Regions from separate parts of the Homo sapiens genome. Here region 2 is linked to region 1. The links are contacts of gene promoters, found by promoter capture Hi-C in blood cells and fetal thymus (Javierre and others, 2016). All regions are on one chromosome and are shown on one strand. The core of a region is centred on a gene start or on the middle of the fragment in contact, and the rest is flanking DNA. Distances in the headings are between cores, read along the strand shown.

Evidence for each region. Contacts are between HindIII fragments. The CHiCAGO score rates a contact against its expected background, and 5 or more counts as called.
Region 2: a fragment that was not itself captured here is called in contact with the fragment with the promoter of SALL3 in region 1 in 1 of 17 cell types (M2 macrophages); the score reaches 5.9 in M2 macrophages.

Annotation. Positions count from the first base shown.
Region 1 is chr18:78,978,501-78,981,104 of GRCh38, reverse strand. SALL3 (spalt like transcription factor 3) reads right to left here and starts at 1,287. Exons shown (of 3, transcript NM_171999.4): 1 at 749-1,287. The coding sequence starts at 830. LINC01896 (long intergenic non-protein coding RNA 1896) reads left to right here and starts at 1,414. Exons shown (of 5, transcript NR_187297.1): 1 at 1,414-2,065; 2 at 2,367-2,604. The HindIII fragment of the contact is 14,735 bases long and covers 1-2,604 here.
Region 2 is chr18:79,303,639-79,306,242 of GRCh38, reverse strand. It overlaps ATP9B (ATPase phospholipid transporting 9B (putative)), which reads right to left. Exons shown (of 30, transcript NM_198531.5): 14 at 2,527-2,604. Among named protein-coding and RNA genes, the nearest start is that of NFATC1, 91 kb to the left of the region's middle. The HindIII fragment of the contact is 833 bases long and covers 911-1,743 here.

The DNA of each region.
Region 1 (2,604 bases), core at 38-2,537:
AAATGACTGCAAAGCCGAGGTCTCCAGCGCCCGGCCTCGGCGGATCCAAAAAGACGGGAGAGAAAAGGCCCGCGCAGACGCTGCAACGAACGCCCCGGAAACACGCCGCGAGCAGGGGCCAGGCCCAGGCCGCCGCCGCTGCGCTCACCCCCAGCTTAATTCCCCGGGCGGCCATTAGGCAGAGCCAAGCCCCCGACCTTCTCCTCGCCTCGCGAGGGATCACAGGCTGCGTCAACGCGCTGGGACACCGCGGGTCACCCGAGGCGGTGCGGGGGCCCGGGAGGGGCCGCGGGCCCCCGAACAAAGCTGGCCGGGCGGCGGGGTCCCCAACCCGCGTCCAGCGGTAGGTGGGCTGCGGTCGCCTTCCCCGCCGCCGCCGGCCTCAGCGTCCTGGCGCAGAGACCCTGGGGGGCGGCGCGGCGGCGGAGGCACCGTGGACTCCCTCCCGCCCCGGCCTCCGAGCCGTCCTCGAGCCGGCCGCGGCCTCGGCGCCCTTCGCGGGCAGCTCCCCGACTCCGAGGAGAGGAGCCAAGTTTACTTCGCCCACAACTCTCTCGGCGGCCGCGCGCGCTCCGGCGAAGTACCCGGGGCCCCGCGGCCGGCCTGGCGCGGGGCGGACGCTTGCCCGCAGGAAGCAGGGAACTTTCTCCCGCTCCCGGACGCGCGCATCCGCTCCCGCCGCACGCGCTTCCCCAGCCCGGACGGGCAGCCCCAGACCCCCCGGCCACCCCGCAGCCCCGGCCCTCACCGTGCTCGGGAGCCCCGTCAGGCGGCAGCAGCTCCTCGTCCGACTTGAGGTGCTGGGGCTTGGCCTGCTTGCGCCGAGACATGCTGCTAGCGGCGCTCGGGCCCCGCGCGGGGCAGCGGCATCAGCGGGGCGGCCGGCGGGGACGGCGCGGGGCGGCCTGGCGGGCGCGCGGCGCGGGGCGCGGGGCGGCGGCGGCTGCGCGGGCCGCGCATGGGGCTGAGCAATTAGGCTGGTGAATAATGCATGGCCATTAGCGGAGGGCCGCGCCGATTGGCCGGGCTCCAGCGGACTCCGGCGGCCTATGCAAATGAGGCCGCGCTCGCAATTAGCGGCCGCGCCGACGAGGAGGGGGCCGCGGCGCCTCGGGACCGGGGCGCGCGCTGCCCGGCGCCGCCTCACATCGCGGGCTCCGGCGCCGCGCTCCTCGGCCGCCCCGGGTGCGGCTGTGGCGGGGCCCGGGTGCGGCGCGGGCCGCGGTGGCCGTCCCTCCGCAGGGCGCAGGCAGCAAACTTTGGCGGCGTCCGCGCGGCGCCGTCTCCGCCGGCGCGCCGGGCTCGCCCCTTTATAGAGTGTCTGCGCCGCCGCCCGCGCCCCCCCCGCCGCCGCCGCCGGGCGGCCCCTCCCGGAGCGAGCGGCCGCGGGCAGGGCTCCGACCCGGCGCCTTTGTCTCGCCCGGGCCGCTCGGGCGCCGCGCCTCCTGTTCCGGGCGCGCGGGGTCGGCCGGCCGCCTTCGCTGCTCCGCCGCGGCTCTCAGCGCCGCTCAGCGCGGCGGGCCCGCCCGGGCTCAGGTGCCCCCCGCTCTCCGGACCTTCTCGCCCGGCCCCGCGTCCCCTCCGCGGGCTTCCCCCGGCGGCCGGCCGGGCTCGGAGGCTCGCGGCCGGAGCGGAGCGGAGTGCGCACGCCGGGGTGGCAGGACTTCGGCAAGACCAACTTTCCGGTTCGGAAGCGGCGCGGGCCGCGCGGCTCCTCCCCTCCTCTCCCTCCCCTGCGTTCCCCCTCCCTTCCACTCCCCCCTCTCCCCGCCCCCCAACCCGCGGGCCCCACCGACTCCGGAGCGCCCGCCCCGCCCGCTGCTGCCACCGGGCCGCCTCGCCCCCGCGCCAGCCCGCCTGGGCCTCTGCGCCGCCGGCGGCTTCTTAAATACAGGAAAGGGAGGGGACCGCAGGGCCCCGGTGTTCCCCACCCTAGTCCCCCTTCACCACGGGCCACCGGGCGCCAGCGGAGTGGGCAGCGAGCGCGACCGAAAGTTCCAACTCCACCAAACTCCCGCGCGCGGCCCACCCTTTCCCGGGATTTCGGGGATGACACGGGGGCCAGGTGAGGGGGCTGCGCACTTCTGGATCGGCCCCACACACTCGGCCCCTGGCGCGGCGCGCTCCCCGCACACGCGCCCGCCCCCTCCCCGCGGTCACACGCACGCGCCCTCGCCCTCGCCCCGCGCGCACAGGCGCGTACTCCCACCCGCGGCCGTGCACCCGCCGCGCTCCTTCCCGCGCGTGTCCTCTCTCCCCGAGCGGCCGCCAGGATGTGCCCCCGGCCCCGTCGTCGCCGCGCCCGCGCCCCTCGCCCCAGTACGTCTTTTTTCGTTTCCTAAATTTCTTATTTTTGTCCTTGCAAGTGGTCCTGTCTGGTGTGAACCGTCAGCACAGATGGCCTCCTGGAGCTTCCCCGAGTCGTTCGCTGGGGGAAGCGGGCGGTGAGCGGCCAGCCCGGGCGCTCCGCAGGCCGCGAGCTCCCGGCAGGGCTGGTGGCGGGGGTCCGCCTGGGGGAGGAATCCCCGCCTGCTCCATCGGACCCGGCCTGGCGCGGCTCGCGGCGCTCGGCGGGCTCCCTTCCATTCTAGAATCTTCCCGCTT
Region 2 (2,604 bases), core at 78-2,577, 330 kb before region 1:
GATGTCAAACGTTTCTTCAGTTAACTTCGGAGTAACTCATGACAATCCTCCTTGGAAACCAAGGCTCTCACGCTTGGACTGGGTGAACAGATCCAATGAACTGTGAATCTCCTGCCCATCAAATTACAGTGCTGTCTAATGAAGGGTTTAACTTTCTGCTCAGCTGGTGCTGCCTTTCAGTGAGGACCCAGCCCATCTGCGCCTGCTCACGCTGCTGCGAGACAGCAAACTCAGCTGGCTCCCTCCTTCCAAACTACGTGATGTTTAGTGATGCTTGTACAATTTAATTTCACACAAATTCCATGAAAGATTATGCCCTCTATCACCAAATGCCTCCAGTGGGGAAATACAATCAGGTTATAAAAGATCTGTGTTGCACGGCAGTGGACCTACTAGACTCCTGTCATCTTAGTAATAAAACAGAATACCGATAGAGAATCAGATCAATTTCACATAAGAAGTACTGTCTGTTCAACTAACAGAAGCTTTCAGCAAAAATGATTTTAAAAGTCCTCTTAGGTGGAAGCACAATAAACATTTACTGTGTTTATATAATGATGCTTCATCTTTTCTGCTTTTAATTTTTTCCTAATAACTTATTTGAAGCTATTAAAATTACATTCATAGATAATTTTTTTTTTTTAAAAAGCAGAGCTCATCTGGTACTATTTCAACGCAGAAATAGATTCCTGGGAGAAACTGTATTCCTTCTCCTTTTAAGATTTTTCTTCTATTAATAAATATCCTAGGTTACAAATATTCCGTATCTAAATGAATTACATCCAAAATAATAAAGTGTTTGGCTGTGTACGTATGTTTGTTTGCTTATGTGTGTGGATAAACATTCCATATGCTAAATATATACACATATGAGACTTCTTCCATTTGACAGCATGCCGACAGTAAAGCTTATGCCAGACTGGTAGCAAGTATACAAGAAAGAGAAGGTTTTCAAAAAACTGAATACAATGCTGACCACTGAATGCTACTCTGGAGTTGTCAAGAGTAGAAACGCAGCAATGGGAAAGTGTCATTTAGTCTAGTCTCTGCGAAAATCAAGTTTGAAACAAATTACTGTAAATACAAAAAGTCTCCTAGACTCCACAGCTGACGTCGCCAGGTGGCCTCTGCAAGTCTGGGCAGCAGTGCCATGCAGCGCTGGGAACTGTCACCTCCCAGGGTGGGCTGTGTACACTTTTGAAGGGTGGCCTCTGCAAGTCCGGGGAGCAGTGCCGTGCAGCGCTGGGAACTGTCACACCCCCCAGGGTGAGCTATGTACAATTTTGAACCTGATAGGCCTTAGCTCATTATTATGTGGATCACTATATTCAGAATAAATCAACAAACAGGCAGAAAAAGGGCCTCAGAAGGTGTAAATTTGTGACGCACACTGCAGCCTTGTCTGCTAGTCTCTTAAATTGATTCTCTCAGATCTCCAGGTCTGATCAAACTGAATCAATGACTTCAAATTATGACAGGCACAAAAAAATGCAAATGAATGACAAGGAAACACTCCTCAGGGCCAGGGCTGTGCTCAGTGTGGTGGCTCTGAGGTGCCTACAGCAGGAATGAGGCTGTTAGGATGACTTGGGTCCATGGACAGACTCTATACACAACCCACTGCCTGCAAAATCTCTGGCAAGTGGTACAGCCTCTAGGCTAAATCCTGTTTTAAAAGCAAATACAGGTTGAGTATCCCTGATCCAAAAATCTAAAATTGGAAATGTTCTAAAACTTGAAGCTTTTTGAACGCCATTGATGCTCAAAGGGATGTTCAGATAAGCGATTAGAGGTGTTCAACCAGTAAGGATAATGCAAATATTCCAAATCTAAAAAAATCCAGAATCCAACATATTTCTGGTCCTAAGCATTTTGAATAAGGGATACTCAACCTCTAATTCCTGTTCTCAGAACTTTAGGGAGCTTTGGCCCCAACGAAAGGCAGAGTCCTTATCAATTAGGGGCACATAATACATATTTACAGATGAAAGAATGTGATATTTGAGCTTCATGTCATAATATAATAATAATGAAGAACACCTACAGATGAAACATCACCACCTGGGCACTGATGACAGGTAGGTGAATGACAGATACGAGATTCCCAACACGATGGTGTCTACTTTTATCTACCGAAAAGGCAAAAAAAGAATTTACCTTTAAAAATATGAGAACATTTTATTATAGAGAAAAACAGAACTGTTAGAAAACATATTGATGTAGTATCCTACTGAACATTCTTCAACTACAATGTTTACTGAATAATTTTTTACAAATAACTCACTAGTAAAATGTGATATGAATAAATGACTTCAGCACACTATGCCTTCTACGATTTCACTCATGTACAAATGCTCATCAAAGACGATTTCCTGATTCGTATATTCGAACAGACGACTGAAGTAGCAGGATGTTAAGACCACCAAGAAGCGTGCTAATTTACAGATGGGAACACACGAGGCTCAGCTGGACTCATGGCGCGGGATGTGTGTGGAAGCAGACCCCGTGCAGGAGGAACCCACTTACCTGTGAGTAGGAGTCCCTGACATGGCTCTGGATCTCATCCATCGTGTCGGCGCCATAGGACACGGTGCCCAGGTGCAG